Linked DNA regions of Homo sapiens: region 1 is linked to region 2. The links are contacts of gene promoters, found by promoter capture Hi-C in human tissues and cell types (Jung and others, 2019). All regions are on one chromosome and are shown on one strand. The core of a region is centred on a gene start or on the middle of the fragment in contact, and the rest is flanking DNA. Distances in the headings are between cores, read along the strand shown.

What was found. Contacts are between HindIII fragments. The study calls those that stand out against the background at their distance.
Region 1: a fragment that was not itself captured here is called in contact with the fragment with the promoter of DENND4B in region 2 in 1 of the 25 tissues and cell types used here (pancreas).

Annotation. Positions count from the first base shown.
Region 1 is chr1:154,119,178-154,126,007 of GRCh38, forward strand. All of the region lies in intron 10 of NUP210L (nucleoporin 210 like), which reads right to left. Among named protein-coding and RNA genes, the nearest start is that of MIR5698, 18 kb to the left of the region's middle. The HindIII fragment of the contact is 5,706 bases long and covers 1-4,774 here.
Region 2 is chr1:153,942,831-153,949,056 of GRCh38, forward strand. It overlaps DENND4B (DENN domain containing 4B), which reads right to left and starts at 3,888. Exons shown (of 28, transcript NM_014856.3): 1 at 3,471-3,888; 2 at 1,228-1,567; 3 at 48-300. The coding sequence starts at 1,544. It overlaps CRTC2 (CREB regulated transcription coactivator 2), which reads right to left. Exons shown (of 14, transcript NM_181715.3): 13 at 5,628-5,814; 14 at 4,845-5,499. The coding sequence ends at 5,279. RefSeq lists enhancers at 2,140-2,239, 2,560-2,609, 3,078-3,578, 4,390-4,459 and a silencer at 3,100-3,999. The HindIII fragment of the contact is 7,798 bases long and covers 1-6,226 here.

The DNA.
Region 1 (6,830 bases), core at 672-3,171, 170 kb after region 2:
ATAAGCTATTCAGAAGAAAATGAGAACATTTAAAGGTGCTAAGGTAAGAAATTTGCCTCATACTTAAAAACAAGCAGAACCCACTCATATATAGAGGGCCAACTTTTTGTGTAAGGTTCTACAGGGCTGGCTGGGAGAGGTGGCTCATGTCTATAATCCCAGCACTTTGGGAGGACGAGGTGGGTGGACCACCTGAGGTCAGGAGTTCAAAACCAGCCTGGCCAACATGGTGAAACCCCATCTCTACTAAAAATACAAAAAATCAGCTGAGCGTGTGGTGCATGCCTGTAACTCCAGCTACTTGGGAGGCTGAGACAGGAGAATTGCTTGAACTTGGGAGGCGGAGGTTGCAGTAAGCTGAGATCACGCCACTGCACTCCAGCCTGGGCAACAATAGGGAAACCTGGTCTCAAAAAACAAACAAACAAACAAAAAACCAAATAAATAAATAAATAATAAGGTTCTACAGGGCTGAATGTAGGACTTGAGTATGCGTGGATTTTGGTATATGTGGGGTCCTGAAACCAGTTCCCCACATATACTGAGGGACAATTGTATTTAGAAGTGCATTATCCATGGTGTATATGTGCCACATTTTCTTAATCCAGTCTATCACTAATGGACATTTGGGTTGGTTCCAAGTCTTTGCTATTGTGAATAGTGCTGCAATAAACATACGTGTGCATGTGTCTTTATAGCAGCATGACTTATAATCCTTTGGGTATATACCCAGTAATGGGATGGCTGGGTCAAATGGTATTTCTAGTTCTAGATCCTTGAGGAATCGCCACGCTGACTTCCACAATGGTTGAACTAGTTTACAGTCCCACCAACAGTGTAAAAGTGTTCCTATTTCTCCACATCCTCTCCAGCACCTGTTGTTTCCTGACTTTTTAATGATTGCCATTCTAACTGGTGTGAGATGATATCTCATTGTGGTTTTGATTTGCATTTCTCTGATGGCCAGTGATGAGGAGCATTTTTTCATGTGTCTGTTGGCTGCATAAATGTCTTCTTTTGAGAAGTGTCTGTTCACATCCTTCACCCACTTTTTGATGGGGTTGTTTTCTTCTTGTAAATTTGTTTGAGTTCTTTGTAGATTCTGGATACTATGCAGCCATAAAAAAGGGTGAGTTCATGTCCTTTGTAGGGACATGGATGAAGCTGGAAACCATCATTCTCAGCAAACTATCACAAGGACAAAAAACCAAACACCGTATGCTCTCACTCATAGGTGGGAATTGAACAATGAGAACACTTGGACACAGAAAGGGGAACATCACACCCCGGAGCCTGTCATGGGGTTGGGGGAGGGGGGAAGGATAGCATTAGGAGATATACCTAACGTAAATGATAAGTTAATGGGTGCAGCACACCAACATGGCACATGTATACATATGTAACAAACCTGCACATTGTGCACATGTACCCTAGAACTTAAAGTATAATAATTAAAAAAAAAAAAAAAAAGAAATGCATTATCCAAGGTGGCCAGATCATGAGGTCAGGAGTTTGAGAACAGCCTGGCCAACATGGTGAAACCCCGTCTCTACCTAAAGATACAAAAAATTAGCCAGGCATGGTGGCATGCACCTGTAATCCCAGCTACACAGGAGGCTGAGGCAGGAGAATCACTTGAACCCATGAGGCGGAGGTTGCAGTGAGCTGACATCACACCATTGCACAACAGCCTGGGAGACAGGGCGAGACTCTGTCTCAAAAAAAAAAAAAAAAAAAAAGTAGTGCATTATTAAATTTATAAATATGTACTTTAAAAATCCCTTTATTGTTGATTTTAATCACATGATTGCAGACAAGGTATAATAATCTGGTAGTGAGATCTTCTTCAAGGATAGTCAGAGAAACTTTTAGATCTCTTATGGGGATCTCATGCTGGGAATTTAAAGCCCTGATGTAACCATTTTCTTTCCCCACACTATCCAGCACATTTAGCAACAATGATCAATCATATTAAATCCCTTACTGTCACTGTAATGTTTTAGGGGAGCAACCAGTTGGTTACCTAAAGCTTTGCCTTCTCTATGCACTTGACTGGAGTGTGTCTACAGGTAATAATTTAAACAGCTGTTTTGCTATTGCATGCCATGGAATAGCAGTGCTCACTTTATTACTGGAAACAGGTTCATTAAATCATTTAAGTCTAATATCAGGGAACCCAGAACGAATTTGGAGCACCTATCTATGATAACTAGACTAAAAGATGGCCCCCAAAGATTTCTGACTCCTGGTATTCACCCCCTTCTGTAGTCCCCATTATGTAGTATACATTGTCTTAGGATTGGTCTGAATAACCAATAGAATATGGCAGAAGTGCTTATATTAAAAAAGAAGAAAGATATAACCCAATGATCCATCATAAAGTTCTTCCACCATAAGAAACTTTAAAGGCTGAAAGCGGTGGCTCACGCCTGTAATCCTAGCACTTTGGGAGGCCAAGGCGGGTGGATCACCTGAGGTCAGGAGTTTGAGACCAGTCTGGCCAACATAGTGAAATCCCGTCTCTACTAAAAATACAAAAATTAGCTGGGCATGGTGGCGGGCGCCTGTAATCCCAGCTACTCGGGAGGCTGAGGCAGGAGAATCACTTGAACCCGGGAGGCGGAGGTTGCAGTGGGCCGAGATCGTTCCACTGCTCTCCAGTCTGGGCAACAGTAAGACTCCATCTCAAAAAAAAAAAGAAAAAGAAACTTTAAAAAGAAAAGCAAATTAAATCCAAACGAAGCAAAAGAAAGAGAATAATACAAAAGCATAAATGAATGAAATAGAAAACAGACAAATAGAGAAAAGTCAATGAAACCAACAGTTGCTCTTTGAAAAACTCAATAACATTTATAAACCTCTAGCCAGACTCAGAAAGAAAACAAGAGAGACATAAATGACCAATATCAGGAATTAATAAGGGGACATCACTACAGATTTTATAGACAACAAAAGACTAGTAAAACAATATTTTGAACAACTTTATGTGATAAATTCAACCACTTAGATAAAATGGACAAATTCCTTCAAAGATACAAACTACCAAATAACATGTGAATGGCTGTATATATATTTTTAAAATTGAATTCATAGTTTAAAAACTTCCCATACACTGATCATTAGGAAAAGGAAAATGAAAACCATAGTTAGATACTACTTATTACCCATTAGGATGGCTATTATTTAAAAACAAAACAGGCCCAGCGCGGTGGCTCACGCCTGTAATCCCAGCACTTTGGGAGGCCGAGGCAGGCAGATCATGAGGTCAGGAGATCAAGACCATCCTGGCTAACACAGCGAAACCCCGTTTCTACTAAAAATACAAAAAATTAGCCGGGCATGGTGGCAGGCGCCTGTAGTCCCAGCTACTCAGAGGCTGAGGCAGGAGAATGGTGTGAACTCGGGAGGTGGAGGTTGCAGTGAGCCGAGATTGTGCCACTGCACTCTAGTCTGGGAAACAGAGCAAAACTCCGTCTCAAAGAAAACAAAACAGAAAATAACAAGTGTTGACAAGGATGTGGAGAAATAGGAACACTTATACAATGCTGGTGGAATGTAACATGGTGCAGCTACTGTAGAAAACAGTATGGCAGTTCCAGGGCCAGGTGCAGTGGCTCACACCTCTAATCCCAGCACCTTGGGAGGCTGAGGTGGGTGGAGCACCTGAGTTCAGGAGTTTGAGACCAGCCAGGGCAACATGGTGAAACTCATCTCTACAAAAAAATTAGCTGGGAGTGGTGGAATGCACCTGTAGTCCCAGCTACTCAGGAGGCTGAGGTAGGAGGATCACTTGGGCCCAGGAGGTCAAGGCTGCAGTAAACCATGATGGTGCCACTGCAATCCACCCTGGGTAACAGAGTGAGACCCTGTCTCAAAAAAAAAAAAAAAAAAACCACAAAAAACTACTAGAGCTAATAAATTAATTCAGCGAAGTTGCCATATACAACATCAACACTCCAATGTCAGTTGTATTTCTTTTCTTTTTGAGACGGAGTTTCGCTCTTGTTGCCCAGGCTGGAGTGCAATGGCGCAACCTCGGCTCACTGCAACCTCCGCCTCCCAGGTTCAAGCTATTCTCCTGCCTCAGCCTCCCGAGTATCCGGGATTATAGGCACGCGCCACCACGCCCAGCTAATTTTTGCATTTTTAGTAGAGATGGAGTTTCATCATGTTGGCCAGGCTGGTCTCAAGCTCCTGACCTCAAGTGATCCACCCGCCTGGGCCTTCCAAATGCTAGGATTATAGGCGTGAGCCAACTCGCCCATCTGGATTTGCATTTTCTTAATGACTAATCATGCTGAACATCTTTTAATGTGCTATTAGCCATATGTACATTTTCTTTGTCCTATATACTATTTTTGCAACTTCTGGTAAATCTATAATAATTTCAAAATTAAAAGTTTAAAAAGTTATTAATGGGCCAGTTTCCATGGCTCACTCCTACAATTCCAGCACTTTGGGAGGCCAAGGCGGGTGGATCACTTGAGGTCAGGAGTTCGAGACCACCCTGGCCAACATAGTAAAACCTTGTCTCTACTAAAAATACAAAAATTAGCCAGCCATTGTGGCATGATCCTGTATTCCCAGCTACTCGGGAGGCTGAGGCAGGAGAATCGCTTGAACTCAGGAGGCAGAGGTTGCAGTGAACCGAGATCGTGCCACTGCACTCCAGCCTAGGTGACAGAGTGAGACTGTCTCAATTAAAAAAAAAAAAGAGAGAGAGAGGCTGGGCGCGGTGGCTCATGCCTGTAATCCTAGCACTTTGGGAGTCCAAGGTGGGCGGATCACAAGGTCAGGAGTTCGAGACCAGCCTGGCCAATATGGTGAAACCCCCATCTCTACTAAAAAAAATTACAAAAATTAGCCGGGCGTGGTGGCACACGCCTGTAGTCCTAGCTACTTGGGAGGCTGAGGCAGGAGAATCACATGAACACAGGAGGCGGAGGTTGCAGTGAGCTGAGATCGCGCCACTGCGCTCCAGCCTGGGCAACAGAGTGAGACTCCATCTCAAAAAGAAAAAAAAAAAAAAAGAGAGAGAGAGAGCACAACGGGGATGGTAAAAAAAAAAAAGATTTGACTGGCATTTAGAATTGACATGGCACTTAATAATGTATTGAATACAGAAGCTGAGGGAGAAGGCAGAGTCAAGGGTGACTTCGGATTTTGTCTAAACTGAGTGAAAGGAGCATTGGAGAAAAAGTAGGTTTGGGAGAGGAAAGCAGGTTTGGCAGGCTAGTAAAAATCAGGATACTTATGTATTTTGGAGGCATTAGAAACAGATTCATTCCTTATCCCTTTACTCAATAACTCCATTTCTGTTGTTACACAGTATGGAAATAATCCAAAAGAAAAAAAATGTACAAAGATACTCAGTTATGCCATTTACAACAGTAAAAAAAATGGAAATAATGGAAACATTCAATGTTTGGGGCATGGGTAAATAAATTGGCATATGAAACCTTTGGATTTTTAGAATTAATAGTACTCTATGCACCTGGTAGTGGTGGCTCACACCTGTAATCTCAACATTTTGGGACGCCAAGGCAGGAGGAACACTTGAGCCTAGGAGTTTGAGACCATTGTGGGCAACATAGCAAGAACCTGTCTCTACAAAAAATATAAAAATTAGCTGGGTGTGGTGGCACACGCCTGTAGTCCCAGCTACTTGGAAGGCTAAGGCAGGAGGATCACTTGAGCCCAGGAGGTCGAGGCTGCAGGTAAGCTATGATGATGCCATTGCACTCCAGCCTGGGTGACAGAGTGAGACTTGTCTCCAAAAAAAGAAAAATAAAGTACGCTCTGTGGACCTGATGACACATGGAAATGTGCATATGAAATACATCATGGCTGGGTGTAGTGGCTCACACCTATAATCCCAGCACTTTGGGAGGCTGACATGGGAGGATCACTTGAGCCTAGGAGTTCAAGACCAGCCTGTGCCACACAGTGAAACGCCTTCTTTACAAAAAATTTAAAAATTAGCCAGGTGTGGCCGGTTGTGGTGGCTCATGCCTGTAATCCCAGCACTTTGGGAGGGTGAGGCGGGTGAATCACTTGAGGTCAGGAGTTCAAGGCCAGCCTGGCCAACATGGTGAAACCCTGTCTCTACTAAAAATACAAAAATTTGCCAGGCATGGTGGTGGATGCCTATAACCCCAGCTACACAGGAGGCTGAGGTAGGAGAATCGCTTGAACCCAGGAAGCAGAGGTTGCAGTGAGCCAAGACCACGCCACTGCACTCCAGCCTGGGCAACAGAGTGAGACTCTGCCTCGAAAAACTAAACAAAAACAAAAATTAGCCAGGTGTGGTGGCATGTGCCTGCAGTCCCAGCTACTTGGGGGGCTAAGGTGGGAGGATTGCTTGAGCCTGGGAGGTCCAGGCTGCAGTGAGCCATGAGTGCACCACTGCACTCCATCCTGGCTGATGAAATGAGGCCCTCTCTGAAAGGAAGGAAGGAAGGAAGGAAGGAAGGAAGGAAGGAAGGAAGGAAGGAAGGAAGGAAGGAAGGAAGGAAGGAAGGAAGGAAGGAAGGAAGGAAGGAAGGAAGGAAGGAAGGAAGGGAGGGAGGGAAATGTTTTTTTTTTTTTTTTTTTTTTTTTTTTTTTTTGAGACGGAGTCTCGCTCTGTCGCCCAGGCTGGAGCGCAGTGGCGGGATCTCGGCTCACTGCAAGCTCCGCCTCCCGGGTTCACGCCATTCTCCTGCCTCAGCCTCCCAAGTAGCTGGAACTACAGGCGCCCGCCACCGCGCCCGGCTAATTTTTTTGTATTTTTAGTAGAGACGGGGTTTCACCGTTTTAGCCGGGATGGTCTCGATCTCCTGACCTCGTGA
Region 2 (6,226 bases), core at 2,638-5,137:
CACTCTTACACCAAGAGGACCAGGTGTCAGCTCTTGGCCCCACTCACCATGCCAGGGTTGAGGTTGCGGGGCAGCCGGCAGTAAGTATGAGGAGTGCCCTCGCCCTTACTGGGCAGCACCAGGCAGAGGTCAGTGATGCCCAGGGCATGCAGCCCTGCCCCCTCTGCTGCCCGCCGGTAAGTGAGGTAGGTGCGGGGGTGCCCGGGGCCTGGAGGGGCCAGGTTTGCTGAGTGGCTGTAGGGTGTCGTGTCAAGCACTTGGAAGCCAGGCTTGGGACGTTCCTTCCCCTCATACAACACCCTTGGCACAGAGAGCAAAGATAGATGTTGAGAGGTCAGGGTAGAGGACAAAGACCCAATCCTGCCAGATCTGCCTATCTAATCCCCTGAACTTGCCTTGTACCCACAGCCTTGTCAAACTCTAACACTAGGGCCCACCTCTTCTTGCTGAACTCTGCCCTCCAGAATCCTGTGCCCTTTCTTTGGCCTTTGGCCTTATTTCATGGTCAGCAACAATCCTGCATGCCTTCTATGGCTCTCATACTCATTAATAAACACTAAGGGTCAGCTGGGCACGGTGGCTCATGCCTATAATCCCAGCACTTTGGGAGGCCAAGGCAGGTGGATCACCTGAGGTCAGGGGTTCAGGACCAGCCTGGCCAACATGGTCAAACCCCATCTCTACTAAAAATTCAAAAATTAGCTGGACGTGGTGGCACATGCCTATAGTCTCAGCTACTCAGGAAGCTGAGGCAGGAGAATTGCCTGAACCCAGGAGGCGAAGGTTGCAGTGAGCCAAGATCACACCACTGCACTCCAGCCTGAGTGACAGAGAGAGACTCTGTCTATAAAAAAAAAAAAAAAAAAAAAAATAGTTATACAAGCTACCACTGACTGACTCTGTTAAGTCTGTCACATGGGTTATCTCATTTAATCTCGACCATCCTATGAGGATGAATTATTTTCCCCATTTGACAGATGAGGAAAACAGGCCCAGAGGAGCTCAAAAACCTGCCTAAGCTCTCAGAGCTAGCAAGGAGCAGCACTAGCACATGAAATCGCATCTGTAAGGACTAAGTACATACAACTTCAGTCCTTCCTTCCTGGCCCCTGGCCCACCAGGCTCCCATCCCCATTGCCCTTCCCTTGTTCCATAGTCCTACCTCTCCCTGTCTCACTGGAGTCCCTCCCAGCCTCCCCTGGTGCCAGCATGGGTAGGGGCACACACCCCAGCTCAACGAGGGGGGGCTTGTCACGGCCCCTGCGGTAGCAGATGACGGGTTGAGTTCCACCCAGAAGTCCAGCACTGAGTTCCAAGGGGTGGCCCCCAGCAGAAGCCTGGATGCATGTGTAGCCCTGGGGCACTTCCTCGCCCAGTGCCCTAGCGATGACTGCCACATCTGTGATGGGCTCAGCTGGCCGGGGAGGGCGCAGGGGCCCACTGGGTTCAGGAACCCACGTTTCCTCAGGGATGGGTGCTCCGTTCCCTGCAAGCCCAGCTACCACGAAGTAATCCACCAGCCGGGGGGGCCGCTCCTCCGCCATGGCCCCCCCCTCACTCACTGCATCTGGAATGGTCAAGTGGGAGAGAGATGAAGCAAGGAAGGCTGGGGATGCCATGGCAACCAGGGTACCCTCTTGCTCCCCTCCTCTTCCTAGTCCTTCCAAAGAAAGGCAGGATAAGGGGTCGGCCAATCCTGAACTCTTCCCCCTGTGACATCACTGCCCACCACAGCTTCTTAAAGAGACCAGATCCCTCCCACTTAATGGTCCTGGCACTCCCCTCAAAGAACCTAAACTCCACCACACACAGCTAACCTGAGCTATGACATTCACATTGTCCATGTGTCCCTTTTAAAGGCTCACCAGTTATAACATCACAGAGATCACAATCTTTTTTGTAATAGCCTTCCATGACATCATTCATGCTGGCCATGACATCATACCAACCTTACAGTCTTTTCAAGGGTTTCTGACCTTCCTACTCTAGTTATGACACCATAAGAACCTTGTGATCCTGCCAATGTTCTTAAAGAGCCCACTCCTAGGTTTTTAAGAGGACCCCATGGGTTTCTGAGAAAGCCCACAAAACCCAAGCTTTAAGAGTCTTTTCAACGAACCCAAGTGTCCTTTCTCCTAGCTTAACTCCACCAATCTGGCCCAAAATCCAGTGTTCTCACACCTCCAGGATCCTTAGGTAGCTCGTTAGATCCAAAGCAGTTGTGAGAGACAAGTCCCGGCCATCCCACACCCTCCACCATGGAGCCCAGAGACAGAAACAGGCCCACAACAGCCTAGTTCTCACCTGCCTCCATGGCCCAACCCCGGGGAGTAGGAGCCCCAAGGGTCCTGAGGCGCCCCAGGGTGCAGAAGCTGGGAAAAAGCCTGGTGGGTAGCTCGCAGCAGGGGCCCAGAAGCGTGGGGGGTGCTTCAGAGGGGAAGGGAGGTTACTTCCTGAAACAGTGGAGGGGAAGCTGCAACTCAGAGGAAGTCAGCCTATGGGTGTGTGTGGTGGCGGTGGCGGTGGTGGGGTTACCATTGAAGGTGCCAGCACAGCATTACGCCAAGTTGGAATCTCAGACTATAGGATCCTGAGCAAGGCAGAGGAGGCTCAGAATGGTTCCAGGATGTGCAGTCCTGCTAACCTCCTGCTGTTCCCCCAGAGAACAGGGAATAAGGAATCTCATAGAGCCAGGCTGGCTTTCTTCATCACCTGGCCTCTGGACACACACACACACACACACACGCACACACACACGCACACACGTACACACACCAACCCCAGCTAAATTTAGACTCCACTTCTGGGAGGTAAAGCCAGGAGTCAGCGTCAGCCTCTTGATTTAATTCTGGGGCACAGACCTGTCCCTCATCCACTGAGGGCGAATGGGAGCCCTATGCCCAAGGCAGCAGGCAGAGGCCATTAGGTGGGACCTTCTGAGGGGCAAGTGGGTGGCACCCATCCGCAGGACCTGCGCACCGGGGCCTCCCCTCACCAAGCCAGGGAAGAGTCCTGCAGAAAGCAGCCCTTTCTCCCTAGGGAAGACAACGGGCACAGGGCCCACTCCGGGTCCCCACGCCCGCGTGCCGGGTGACGGGAAGTTCGGGTTGGGGCAGAGGGCGCGCCGAGGGGGAGGAGGCTGAGGAAGGAGCAGGAGGGCAGAGAAGCAGGCGCGCCGGCGGCCGAGGACGTGACGGCAGCAGCGCCGGCCGCCGCGTGACCCAAGCGGGAGGGAGGGCGGCTCCGACTCCGGCACCCACGGGAGCAGAAGGGGGTGCAGGAGGCCGGGCACGGCGAGCTAATTGCGGGAGGTGCCCTCCCCTCCACTTTCACTTCCCCAGGAGAGAGGAACCGGAACCAGATGTGCAGTGAGGGACAGCAGCTGGGGGCCATCCCCCACCCCGCCTGCCGCCCGCGCTCCCTCCTGCCCGTCCCCGCCTGCCGCCCAGCCCGGTCCAGCCCCTACCTGCCTGTCCCGCGCTTCCCGGCCGGCCGGCCCGCTGGCGGGTGGCTCGGAGGGCGAGCTGGCGGGCCGGCGGGCGGCGGGGCTACCCGGCCCCAGACATGGCGCACCCGACTTGGGCGCCGCTCCCGCCCGGGCAGTGAGTGAAGGAAGAAGAGGCGGCCGAGGACCGCAGAGCGCGGGGCGCAGTGGAAGGAGATCCGGGCGGTCCCCGCGTCCCCGCCGCGCTGCGCCACGCGGGGACTGTGCTGCCGCGCTGCTCGCTCGGCCGGCTCGGTCCTCCCAGCTCCCGCGGCGCCGGGGACCCAGCGTTCCTCCGCGCGCCCCGCTTTCTCTACTCCCCCAACCCCCGCTCCGGGCCGCGGGCGCCGCCGCTACCCCCACCCCTCCTCCTCGGCCGGCGGCCGTGACCCTGGCAAGCGTCTGCCCAAAGCCCAGCCGCCTGCAGCCCGACCCCTGGCGGCTGGGAGGGCCCCCTGCACCCAGGTAGCTTCCCACCATCCAGCCCGTGCCTCAGGACACTGACCCCAGGCGACCCAGAGGGCCGCGGCGCGCTCCCTTCCCGCCTGGGTCCTGCAGTCAGATGTGGCAAGCATGATGTGGGCGCAGGTGAAGTCCCGAAGGTCTAGTCTACGGGGACCCAGGTGGCTCCCCCTACTTCCAGGTTTAGGGCACAGGGCATTCCCTTTGGACCAGAACCAGAAGCTCTCAGTTCTCTTTTTTGAAAATGACAAGAGCTTTGGAAAGAGGAAGAGAGGCCAGGACTGCAGGGTGTGGAATAGAGCAGTGGAGGTGGGGGTAAGGTAACTGCGGGGCTCTACTTTTCTCACTATGCGGGTTGGGGGAGTGAGGGGTGCAGAGGCCCACACGGCTGGTCCAAGGGCTGGCAACCCAATCCAGAAAGAGAAAACCTTCAGAACATGCATGGCACTGAAGGATCTGTTTAATTAAAACTAAAATGAATGAGTGGTGAAGAGTGGAGAGGGTGAAGTGAATGCATGCATAGTGAGGGAGTGAGGATGAAGGCTTGCTTCCCTGAGACCTAGGAGCACTTCAGACCTGTGGGCTCAGCCAGCAATCACCTCCTTACCCGACTCACTGCCAGACCTAGGGTTGAGGAAGAGGAATAACTTGTCTGATCAGTCAAAGCCCCCATCTGATGCTGCAGCAGGGCCCTGGACAGACAGGAGGGCACATGAAGTGATTTCCTGCTGCCGTGGAAGCCTACATCCAGCTGGGTACAAATTCCGAGGCTGTGGGGCCCTTCCACAAAGCACAGTGGTGCTAAGAAGATGCAAAAAGCCTAATAGATAAAAAGACCCATGGCCCTATAACTCCCTAGATCCCCAGCCATGCCCCAAATAACTAACCACACCAAGGGTTTGATATGATTTTTTTATTAACATATAATAATATATTTAATAAAAAATAGTATCCACTCTGGCTCTCTCCTCCACTGCAAGGGGAAGAGTGGTGAGGAGGGGCTGGCACTGCCCACCCCTAGGCATCCGGAAAAGCCCTGCTTCCAGGGCTCCCCTCTACCCCTGCTTTCCAACAGGCTCTGACCTCCAGACAGACGGTTCAAAGTTACAAGTGCTTTAGGCCCTCCCTTGAGTTCCCCCAGGCCCATCCCTTGCGCAGAATTCAGGGGCCACCTGGACAAACCCCTTGCTTTTTCTCATTCTTGGCATCCTTCATTCATGCTAGAAAGAGGATCTGGGGACAGAGAGTAGAGTCTCTACCTGCCAGGGGGAAGGGAGGAAAGGAATGGTGGTGGGGGATGGGGCCAAGAAGAGGGATGGTGATGAGGTGCCCTCATTGGAGCCGGTCACTGCGGAATGACTCCTCCACAGCAGGATCAGGCAGCAGGGCACAGGGGTCACTCAGCATGTTTAGCCCTTCCAGGCCCAGTGGCTCCATGCGCAGCTCATCTTCTAGCCCAAGCCCTAGCTCCAATCCAGCTGCTGACACCTCAAAGCCAGGCACTCCGGCCAGGGCTGCTGCAATCTCCTTAGAGAAACCTGGAGAGGAGTCCCCTGTGGGTAGAAGAGACAGGTGAGGACCCCATGTCCTGTAAACTTTTCCAAGACCCCTCAATCTCCTACTCATTAGTGAATGTGTCACTTCCTCCTTCCATTTCCCATCACCACCCACCCCCATTCACCTGTGAGGATGATGTTAGGCCCTGAGCCATGGCGGGAACAGTGGGTCAAGTTCTGGTGGTTGAAGGTGTGGGGATCCTGGGGGCCACCCATTGGCCCCTCACCCCCTAAAAATCCAGGCCCTTCAGAAAAGCCAGGGGGATCCAGCACCAGGCTGGCTGATGGGCTCTCCATGCTGAACTGCTCCAGCTATAGACATACAGACAAATCTTTAGGAAGTAGGATTTAGAACTGGTGTCCTGCCTAGCCCTGCTAACATATCCCCTTTGCCCAGCAACCTTCATCCACCCCAGGAACAGAGGCAATGACAGAGGGAGGTGGCAGCAAGCAGAGCGACAGAAGCGAGCACGGGGCCCGAAGTAAGTATGGGCACCGTACCTGCTGGGCCAGAGCATGTGCATGCCAGGAAGAGAACGGGTCAAGGCAGAAGTCATCAAAGAGCAAGCTGAGCAGAAATAGAGGGGCAGGAGTAGGGTCAAACGCAGGAAGAGAGGAGCCCCAAGCTGGCAGTGCTATGTTACCTCCGGGGAGAGGAGATCTCCCCACCACCCACCCCACCTAGATCTCCCCATTCACAGTGCACCAGCCATGCCATTCAGGC